Regions from separate parts of the Homo sapiens genome. Here regions 1, 3 and 4 are each linked to region 2. The links are contacts of gene promoters, found by promoter capture Hi-C in human tissues and cell types (Jung and others, 2019). All regions are on one chromosome and are shown on one strand. The core of a region is centred on a gene start or on the middle of the fragment in contact, and the rest is flanking DNA. Distances in the headings are between cores, read along the strand shown.

Region 1 (2,700 bases), core at 93-2,592, 210 kb before region 2:
CTCAGAAGATCTAGCACAAATCTAGGCAATCAGTTATTCAATAAATAAGCCTTTATTGAATCTCTACTATGTACCAAACAATAGTTGCTTAATAACTTAATTGCTTCTTGTGGTCTTCTCATCACAAAGAAAAATTACTGTGTCCTATAAAATAACCCTAATTGAATTAATCACAGCTCTACTCTCATGAGATGGTTCTTACATCACACATACATTCTTCAAAGTTAACTAGAAGGAGAGCCTGGATTTCTAGAATTATAGATTTAAGGAGTATGGGCAATGGATGGTTGAGACCTTGGTCTCTGAGTCAGGCAGACCTGGATTTGAATACAGGCTCCACTACATGGAAGGCCTGTGACTTGGAGCAAATAATTGACTTCTCAATCCTCCATGTCCTCCTCTGTAATCCAGGCAGGAGAACAGGATCTGCCGTATAGGGATGTGGGTATGAAATGAGATCGTGTGGGTAGAGCCGTCACACAGAGTAAGTGTGCAGCGGATATTAACAATCGGACGCGCAGAACATGGGAACTGGAAGGAATTTCAGAGATCCTCTCTTCTGAGCAGTTGTTCCCTTAAACTTCTGATTCCAGAGCAGCCCTCTGACATCTTGCGGCAGGGTATTTGAGAGGCCAGGATTCTAAAGACCCACTTCCTGTGCTTGGTCTGTCCTCCTAGGCCTCAGCCCATGCCTCAGAGTCTGAGGCTGCCCCAGGCTCCTTTGGTTCAACACTGAACCACAGGCTGTGGCATAGGAGTGAGTTCAGAGCCTCAAGGCTAACCCCAAGTTTAACCAGCCAACCATCTTCAGCCCTGCCTGGACCCACCTGGGGCCCACTTGCTCTAGGTTCCAGTTTTGGGATGAGGAGTAAGGAAGACCAGAGAGTCCTCCTGTGCCACCACCTGATCCTCTGCTCAGCACCAGGTGCCCTGGCTGTCCACTCACCCCCAGTGCCTGGCAGAGCCAGTTCTCCCAGTCTGCACTGGGCCAGGGCTGGTGTGAGGCAGAGCAGCTGAGTCACGGCCCCTCGTTCAGTTTAATTACCTATGTGTGCAGATGACACACACAGAGGGGCTAACGAGGGTAATTACTCCGGGTGGGGTGAGCCCAGCTGACTAAGAATGCTTTGTTCTAGATGCAGAGAGCTGGGAGAACATTGCCAGAAGTGCTTCCTGAGCCTGGACCTTGTCTGGCCCTCCAAGACCCCTTCCCACCATCTCCCAGCACTTCCAAAGGCCAGGGAGCTGAGGTCCTAGACGGGGAGGGTGCATGTTCACAAATAGTATGAGTTGCCACCTGTCAATTGTGCATTTCTAGGTCCAGAGACCAGCTCATGGGACAAGGGCCACCTGCTGTGTCTCCTCTAGAGCCAGGAGGCTATCGGAAGGGGCAGATCCATTCATTCATTTCACCATAAAATTTTAACAGCTGTATTGAGATAGAATTTACATACCATACTGTTCACCCATTTAAAGTATACAATTAGATGGTTTTTGGTATATTCAGGGTTGTGTAAGATTGACCATCACAATAAACGTTAGAACATTTTCATCATTCCCAAAAGAAATACCCTACTCTTTAGCACTTACTTCCCCAGCTTCCCTCCCCCAAGCCCTAAGGCAACCACGAATCTACTTTCTGTGCCTGTAGATGTGTCTATTCTGGTCATTTCCTGTAAGTGGACTCATGCAGTGTGTGGTCTTCTGTGGCTGGCTCCTTTCATTCATCATCATATTTTCAAGGTCCATCTGCGCTGTGGCTTATGTTGGGACTCAGAAAACAACACCTCAAAATGAAGACCTCAGAAACAAAAGTTTTTCTCTGACCTGCTCCTGCCCTCCTGTTTCTCAGTCCCATTCTCCCCCGAGGCCAGCCGTTGAGACTGGAATCCCTCTTTTCCAAGGTGGGTCATAGAAACCCAAACTCCTTTTCTCCAAAGCCAGCCATAAAACCTAAAAGTATCAATCTCTCTCCCCAACTCCACACCGCCAGTGTAAAAACTGGCCATAAAACATGATGTGACCTACCTTACCTGACTGTAGTTCATTAGACCCTCATACCCAGAAGGAAGGAACACATGCTCAAAGGGGTCAACAAAAATCTAGATGGACAGCCTTGCTGGATTTCCATACTCACTCTGTTAGCATTAGATCAGACCCTTTTTGTCCAATCGTATTTCTCCACACAGCTGTCTATACTTTGTTGAACCTAAGCATAAAAATGGACAACTTCCCCTGTATCTTTGGGTCTTCATTCTGAAAGCTCCTGTGTCACCTAAAACTATGGTCAAATAAATTTATGTACCTTTTCTCCTATTAATCTGCCTTATGTGAGTGATTTTCAACAAAACTTCAGAGGGTGAAGCAGAATTTTTCCCTTGGACTTGACGCTTGTATCAGTACTTCATTTCTTTGTATTGTGAATAACTGTGGATAACACTCCATTGTGTGGATATGCCACATTTTATTTATCTATTCATCAGGTGATAGCCGTTTGAATTGTTTCCCCTTTTGGGCTATCATGAATAATGGTGCTATCAACTGATGTGCAAGTTTTTGCATGAGCTTATATTTTCAGTTCTTTTGGGGATATCCATAGGAGTGGAATTGCTGGGTCATATGGTAACTCTGTTAACCTTCTGGGGAAATTTTCCACAAATAATTTTGAGAGCCTCCTATATGCAAGGTCTGGGCTAGGTG
Region 2 (2,700 bases), core at 28-2,527:
CTCTCCCCTCTTCACCACCAGGCACCAACCTGCTAGATCTGCACACAGTTTACATTCGCAGAAACAGTAGCCACTTCCCTTATAGGGTTCTGTCTCCCTGTTTTCAGCAGAAATACCTACACCGTGTGTCTTACCCAATGCAGGGAGCTGCCAAAAGCCAAATCTGACCAATATAAACAGGAAGAGATGCCGTTGCCAGAGATGGAGTCGGCTTACATTAAAGTCTGGCTATGATTTATGAGGAGATTACATCCTGGATGAATAAATATCATTCCCTAATCTCTTGGAGTTTGACACTCAAAACTCTCATGTGCATATTAATAGATATTAATAATGCTTCTTCCTCCGTGTCCTCTGGACATGTCTTCTCTGTCTCCATATTCACTTCAAAAATGAAGAGCCAGGAGCAGGTCAAACAGGTCTTCCCTACGGAATCTCTTTGTAGGAAGAGAGACAAGGCCGTTCCTAAAGGGCCTTGAATGATCCCGCAAGCCCCTCCAGCCCCTTCCAGCTTTCAGGTGCTGCTGTAGGGAAGGCAGTGGCTCCTGAGGGAGGTACAGGGCAGAGGAGCAAAGCAGGAAAAGGGCCCAGGAAGAAGGGGACTCCCCCACCCCCAACTGGTGCATGCCTGGTGCCTGGGAAACAAGCAAACGGCTCTGGGCCGGGATGGAAACCACCATTCCAACAGTCACACGTGCAACCCACCTGGTATCCCCTGCACTCAAGGCACGGACCCCCCTCCTCCAGCATCCTGAACCTCTGAACTCTGGAGACCCGCGCTGCAGCCCCAAGATCCAGCTCCAAATACCTGGAGCCGAAGGTGCCAAGGACAGCAAAAAAACTAATCCTGAGACTGGCGGGCTGATGGGGTAGAGAGGGACGCACACGGTCCCCAGGGAGCACAGCCTATGAACCAGGCAGGAACCAGGCAGGAAGCCGGCGGCCACCATCCTCATTCCGTGCCGCACTCCAAAGCCCACCCCATCCAAGGCATCTTCCTTCTCGAGTGTCCCCTTCTTTGGGGGTGGGGGGAGGCAAGAGAAGAGACCAAGCTGGGGCTGCCTTACCCAAAAGCCCAGTGCCCAGCCATCTCGCCGGGGCTTTGCCTCCGTCCCCAGCCCCGGGCATAGTCCTGTTCTCTCCGGAGCGCGCGGGGGTCGCGGGGATGGGATACTGGGCACAGCCGCGCTCTCCGCCCGAGGTCGGCGTTCGGCCACAAAGCTACCCCGGAGCTCTGCGCCGCCGGTCGGGGCTCGGGAAAGTTAGCGGGCAGAGAGCGAGAGGAGGGGGAGGGAGGGAGCGGAGGGGGAGGCGCGCTCGCCCGCTGCTGGGAGCCGGCTGCTGGAGCAACGGCGGGAGGGAAGGAGTAGGAGGAGCCGGAGCAGGAGCGGGAGGAAGACGGAGCGAGCGCAGCGGCGAGCGAGGCTGCGCCTCTGCTCTGGAAGCGCTCCAGCCGCAGGAGGGGCGGTGGCCGCCGCGTAGGCCGGGGAGCCCCCGCCCGCTGCGCACCCTGCCTGCCGCACCCCGCCTCGCGGTCCCGGAGCCCCGGGACCACGCCGTGCCCCCAACTCCCTCTCCAGTGGGGCTGGGCTGCTGCGGCTGGCACTGCAGGGCCGGCCTGCAGCCACCCGCATCATCCCATGCGCTGAGCTGCCAATTAGGAGCATAGTTCGGGGGGAGTAGAGGTGGAGCTTTTCGGTTGCTGGAAGACTGTTTTGCTTTGCTTGGGGGAACACGGGAAGGTTAGCGGCTCCCTCTCCCAGGACCGCCAAGGGACCGCTTTAAAGTCCGCAGCGGACGCTGCCGCAACGGGTGGGCGTGTGCGGGCTTGCCCACTGCAGCTTGCGCCTCCTCGGTGGCGTGCGACATGGCGCGCGTGCAGCCTCGGGACCCGCTCCCGCCACCTTCTGCCCCATCGCTCAGCAACTCCGGCGGTTGTTTTAGGAAGCCCGGAACAGAGCTTTCCCATTGCAAACTGCCCCGGCCCTCCCTTCCCCCACCCCCACGCCACCCCGCCCCACATTTCTCCATGGACCCCTTGGAAATCACCACGCTCCAGGTTAGGGAGCAGGTTGGTCCGCGCCTGGTCTGTGTCCTGCGCCCCATTTCACCCTCCCGCTGCACCCCTGCTTCTCATTTTTCCTACCTAGGCCGTCCCCCTCAGATGCTGCCTTTTCGCCCTCCTCCAACTCTCCTGTTTTCTTCGGAACGGCAGACTCCCTCGGCCTCCCTTTTGGGGTAGGGGTGGAGGAGTCCAGGGTGACAACCAGGTCAGAGGGCTGAGGCGAGGCTGTGAACGAGTAAGCCTTTTCCCAGACAGGCCCAAGTGAAAGAGTTTCACCTGAGCGGTGCTACTTGGGCTGGTGGTTCTGTAAATGAGTCGATCTCCTCCTCAGCACCTTTCCAACCATCCAAGACCCTCCCTGCATCACAGGCCCTCTTTACTGTCTAGGACTGGTCCGGACTGGGAAGCCCGCTCCCACTTCATGGTCTGACTTCTGCTGCAGGCACACCAACGCACCGCCTTCTTAACGAGGGGTCTCTGGGTGGACTTCGGCGTGATCACGGACCCCTTGAGGTTGCAGGCAAAGTGCTGAATGTCTGTTTGCTTTTTCAGGAGAGAGGGTCGCTGCCTTCCCTATAGTGGCACAGAGGCTCTGGCAGCGCCACCATTTATGACTGTATGGCTTTGAGCAAGTT
Region 3 (2,718 bases), core at 100-2,599, 160 kb after region 2:
ACCTAACTTGTAGGGTTATTATGAGGACCAAATGAGTAATTCATTTAAGGCACTTAGAACATTATCTGACATAAAAGGCAGTAGGAGGGCCGGGCATGGTGGCTCACACCTGTAATCCCAGCACTTTGAGAAGCCGAGGTGGGAGGATCACCTGAGGTCAGGAGTTCGAGACCGGCCTGGCCAACATGGTGAAACTCCATCTCTGCTAAAAATACAAAAATTAGCCAGGCATGGTGGCAGGTGCCTGTAATCTCAGCTACTCAGGAGGCTGAGGTAGGAGAATTGCTTGAACCTGGGAGGCGGAGGTTGGAGTGAGCTGAGATTGTGCCATTGCACTCCAGCCTGGGCGACAGAGCAAGACTCTGTCTCAAAACAAACAAACAAACAAACAGACAGTAGGTGAATTTTAGCTATTAATACATGGAAAGCATGCTGACTATAGATGATAAGCATTAAAGTTTACTGAGCATGTATGTTTTAGGCATTGCTCTAAATATTTTACTTGAATTTCCTCATTTAATTCTTCCAACACCCCTACTGTACAGTTAAGGAAACAAAGCCTCAAATAAATACAGAAATAAACAAAAATAAGTAAACAATCCAGTCCTGGGGATATAAATGCAGATTTAGGCCAAGTGCCATGGTTCATGCCTATAATCCCAACACTTTGGGAGGCCAAGGCAGGAGGCTCGCTTGAGCTCAGAAGGTTGAGGCTGCATTGAGCAAAGATTGTGCCACTGTACTCGAGCCTCTGTGGCAGAGAAAGACCCTGTCTCTGAAAAAATTAATAAATAGAAATTTAAAAATAAAAAAATTTTAATGCAGATTTATATGATACCGAAGTTCATTTTCTCAACCATTATGAAATACTGTTTCTGGATATGTATAAAATCTTTGTGAGCACACATATCTTTTTTTAACTTAACTTTCATTTTAAATTCAGGGGTACATGTGCAGGTTTGTTATATAGGTAAACTTGTGCCATGGGGGTTTGTTGTATAGATTATTTCATCACCCAGGCATTAAGCCTGGTACCTGTTAGTTATTTTTCCTGATCCTCTCCCTCCTCCCACCCTCCACCTTCTGAGAGGTCCCAGTGTGTGTCATTTCCCTCTGTGTTCATGTGTTCTCATCATTTAGCTCCCACTTCTAAATGAGAACATGTGGTATTTGGTTTTCTGTCACTGTGTTAGTTTGCTAAAGATAATGGCCTCCAGTCCCATCCATGTTCCTGCAAAGGACGTGATCTCATTCTTTTTTATGGCTGCGTAGTATTCCATGGTGTATATGCAGCACATTTTTTTATCCAGTCTACCACTGACAGGCATTTAGGTTGATTCCATGTCTTTGCTATTGTGAATAGTGCACAATGAACATACGTGGAGCACATTTCTGTCTAAGCACAGACATCTAGACCCTTGTGTGAGCATGAGTTAAGTCTAAGCTCTGCTACTGAATTTGTGCCAATAAAAGTTGTGAGCAATTTTCTTTACATTTTTTTCAAACAAACACACCCAGCAGAGTATAATGTCTATGTACTTTATTTATGATTTCTAGTTCATTTAACATGTCTAAGAAACATCCGTGTTGAAAAATTATTTATAAATTAAAATAATATAAACTATCTACTGTCCTTATACTCAACTCCCAATTATAAGCAGGTGGAAAAACCTGGAGAATGTTTTGTTTACATTCTGTGCAGTCTTTGTCAGAGGGCTGCCTGAGCAACTGGGTCAGAGTTTAGTTCTGCTCTGGGAGTAGCAGGACCTCAAGAAGGAAAGGAGGAAAGGAAGTAACTTTTTCTTGAGCACCTGCTATGTGTCATTCACTTTCACCTTCATAATCCATTTAATTTTCGCAAAAACTTTGTGAGGTTGGTGTTTTATCTCCATTTCCCTGATAAAGAAGTTGAGGTTCAGCAAAGTTAAATGACTTGCCCTCAGTCACACAGACTAGGGCAGATCCAGGATTCAAACTCAGGGCTTCTGACTCTTGAGTCCAGAGCTCTGTCCCTGACAGCAGCAGCACTGCCTCTCCTCTCTTCCAGCTGTTATGTCCAGACTGTAGCAGAACCCAGTGTTCCAGCCACAAGTTTTCCAGGAAATAATAAAGGACTCCTAGCTCCACCTCCCAGGGCAAAAATGGCTGCTGTGGGAAACACAGGCTGGACCTACGAATGGCATTAGTGGTTTATTAGTTGATTTCAGTTGTCCACACTAATAGGCCTCCCTCTAACAAAAATAATTGAGAGCTGATTATGCTCAGATATAATGTAAAGTGAAGCCACTTTTTATTGGAAGAAGCATTCCCTCAAAACGTGTAGAGTATTTCACATTATTTAAAGGCAAATAGAGAGAAAATTATATGGAATAAGAACAAAGATGTTTCTTCTCTATTATGAGGGACTCAGTTCTGAGAAAGGATTTTAAATTGTAAGAAATAGGTAAGTCCACGAATCAGTGATTCAGTGGTGTGGAGAGCTTTATTTCTGAGAAGGCCAGTAGCGCTCCCTTCTGACAAGCAAATCTAAGACCTGGATGACAGATGACTTCCTGCATTTGGTTGGTTCTTTTGTCATTCATATCTATCTGTAATACAGTTCTGGCTAATTTAAGAGGATAAGCTTGAAGACCTCTGGAATTTTTCGGCTTTAGGACTTTAAGGCTTTCTGAGCTTCAGTAGATCTAGATCTAGGAGCTCATGCTGGTATATTCTGAA
Region 4 (2,700 bases), core at 111-2,610, 230 kb after region 2:
TTATATTCTAGTCTTTACCCTCAGAAAGCTTGAAAAGGCAAGTTTATTCCACATGAAACTGTCAGAGAATAGGAAGCAGTAAATAATGCATTATTACAGAGAAGTAAACAATGGCTAAGCATTCAATAGAAACTTAAGTGCTCACCGTCATATTTGGTAAGCTGTCAACTCAAGAGTTAAATGATGTACCCTGCATCACCACCCCACCCCCCGCCCAGCCGCACCAAGAAACTGACAAACTTAAAACTGCAGAAGTGGATCCTTTTTTTTCCTGTAATATGGTTTAGGGTGGATTTTGATTCTTATGTGGAGAGAACAGAGTCATAAATTTGGAGTTAAGCTTATCTGCTCATCTTGCTTTTTGCCCATTTTGCAGAATGAAGAATCCCCACCTGAGGGCCAAACTAGCAGAGGTGTTGGAAGCAGTGATGCCCCACCTGGATCAGACCCCAAATCCCTTGGTATCCAGTGTGTTCCACCGGAAACGTGTGTTCTGCAACTTTCAGTATGCACCCCAACTTGCAGAGGCTCTAATCAAGGTTTTTGTGGACATCGAATTTACAGGTAAAGCAGTCATGAAGCTGAGCCCAGAACTGGGAAGCTGATACCAGTGGAGTTTCATAGTTTGATCCGTATTTGGATATCAAAGAAATGTCAAGCCATTACTTATTGAATACCTACTATATGCCAGGCTTGATGATAAGTGCTTTTTTTTTTTTTTTAACATTATCCCATTGTCACCATTGGAAAAGTTTCACTCTATTATCCCTGTTTTATTTATTTTTTATTTTTTAATTATTCTTGTTTTACATATGAAGACATGACTGCCCAAAAGATCAGTTTGTCCATGTCATAACAAACTACCAAGTGGTAGAATCAGGTCTGTGTCACCTAAAGAAATCTACATATTCAACACCCTTATTATGTTGCATCATCAAATCAGACTCAAATTAGACTATTTGGGTCTTTATATTTCTCTGCCTTAAAATTACAGAATAGTGCATAAAGAGGCAGTGTATTGGTTGAGAGATTCTTTTATCTTAACCAGACTATCTAACTCTCCAACAGTCTAATGGTTCGATTAAAAATACCAGCAGGCGGACAGGCACAGTGGCTCATGCTTGTAATCCCAGCGTTTTGGGAGGCCAAAGTAGGCAGATCACTTGAGCTCCTGAGTTTGAGACCAGCCTGGCCAACATGGTGAAACCCATTCTCTACAAAAATACAAAAATTACCCAGGCATGGTGGCAGGTGCCTGTAATCCCAGCTACTTAGGAGGCAGAGGCACGAGAATTGCTTGAATTCGGGAGGCAGAGGTGGCAGTGAGCTGAGATCGCACCACTCCAGCCTGGATGACAGAGCAAGAAATCCCTCTCAAAAAAAAAAAAAAAAAAAAAAAACCAGCAGGCAACATTCCCTCTCTATCTAACCCTGAGCCCCTGTGTTTGTTTAAACAGTACCCTGTCTCAATCAGTAAATAAGATATGTTAAGAAGTTGTTGAAGACCATTTTTTAAAGGGATATCTACCATCCAATGATAAATACAACTAACATTTAAAGAGGCATTTAACATTTTACTGGCCGCCTTTCCATATTTGGATTCTGGTTTTTTTTAATTCGCTCACCTATCAACCTTAGTTTCCTCATCTATAAAATGGGTCAAAGTGATGATTAAGTGAAATAATGCATGTAAATCTTTATAATACATAAGAAATTGTATAATAAATCATTGCAGTTATCTCGTTATGTGACCATACAACCAAAGTGTTGTAATGGAGTACAATTTCTGTTTTATTTCTGAGGAAGTGGAAGCTGAAGAAGATTAAGAGACTTAGATTAAGCAGAGCCAGAATGAAAACGTAGGTCTTTTGACTCCAAATCCTACACTCTTCCTTTATTATGACCCAGCCTGTGGAGCTCTAGTAATACCTTTGGTATTTCAAAAGCAGTATAAGCCTCAGATTTTTAGCTCCTGACCTGATTTTTCAGAGTAATCAAGAACCTGTTGGCTACACAGTTTGGGATATTGTCTGTGAAGAATGTGGGAATTGCTTAGTGTCCCGTCCTGCACATGGCTTTCACTGCCATAATGGCCAGCCCTGAGCCCTCATTTAAAGCCTGAGAAGTACTCATGTTTGGATATGGAAACATTTGTTTCCCTTAACTTTTATTTTACAGCTTGGTACTTGTCTCTTGCAGAGTAAGGTATCCTTTATCTCTGTCTCCCCCTTACTTCATCAGTAAGGAAATGAGCAAACACTTGGCGATAACTCTAGGCCTTTAGAAACTCCAGGGCAGATTTTGTTAGTAGCCTTAACACACTCAAAAGCAAATGACTACAAAGCAAATGGCTACACATAAGCATAAACTCTTCCTCTTATGGCACCGCCTTTGCTGATATTTCGCTCTTGCCTTACTCCAGGAGACCCCCATCAATTTGAACAGAAGTTTAATTACCGCCGTCCCATGTATCCTATCCTAAGATACATGTGGGGGACAGATACCTATCGGGAGAGCATTAAGGTGAGAGAGTTTTTGATGAAACCTGTTGCTTTATATAAGCCCTAATGAGTTGTAATTCAGTACTAAAATGGTTTTCTTGTGGGCTGGGACTTACAGGATTTGGCTGACTATGCCTCTAAGAATTTAGAAGCCATGAATCCCCCACTTTTCCTCCGCTTTCTTAACCTGCTAATGAAT

Evidence for each region. Contacts are between HindIII fragments. The study calls those that stand out against the background at their distance.
Region 1: a contact is called between a fragment that was not itself captured here and the fragment with the promoter of SCN4B in region 2, in 2 of the 25 tissues and cell types used here (lymphoblastoid cells and thymus).
Region 3: a contact is called between a fragment that was not itself captured here and the fragment with the promoter of SCN4B in region 2, in 1 of the 25 tissues and cell types used here (lymphoblastoid cells).
Region 4: a contact is called between a fragment that was not itself captured here and the fragment with the promoter of SCN4B in region 2, in 5 of the 25 tissues and cell types used here (dorsolateral prefrontal cortex, heart right ventricle, mesenchymal stem cells and 2 more).

What each region holds. Positions count from the first base shown.
Region 1 is chr11:117,940,508-117,943,207 of GRCh38, forward strand. No RefSeq gene overlaps it. Among named protein-coding and RNA genes, the nearest start is that of TMPRSS13, 12 kb to the left of the region's middle. The HindIII fragment of the contact is 6,208 bases long and covers 1-2,700 here.
Region 2 is chr11:118,151,546-118,154,245 of GRCh38, forward strand. It overlaps SCN4B (sodium voltage-gated channel beta subunit 4), which reads right to left and starts at 1,278. Exons shown (of 5, transcript NM_174934.4): 1 at 1,068-1,278. The coding sequence starts at 1,128. RefSeq lists an enhancer at 1,896-2,396. The HindIII fragment of the contact is 20,039 bases long and covers 1-2,700 here.
Region 3 is chr11:118,309,207-118,311,924 of GRCh38, forward strand. The region is part of intron 4 of CD3E (CD3 epsilon subunit of T-cell receptor complex); the gene reads left to right. Among named protein-coding and RNA genes, the nearest start is that of CD3E, 5.8 kb to the left of the region's middle. The HindIII fragment of the contact is 5,427 bases long and covers 1-2,718 here.
Region 4 is chr11:118,382,213-118,384,912 of GRCh38, forward strand. It overlaps UBE4A (ubiquitination factor E4A), which reads left to right. Exons shown (of 20, transcript NM_001204077.2): 13 at 377-564; 14 at 2,423-2,523; 15 at 2,620-2,700. All of the region lies in intron 3 of LOC100131626 (a long non-coding RNA gene), which reads right to left. Among named protein-coding and RNA genes, the nearest start is that of ATP5MG, 18 kb to the right of the region's middle. The HindIII fragment of the contact is 4,714 bases long and covers 1-2,700 here.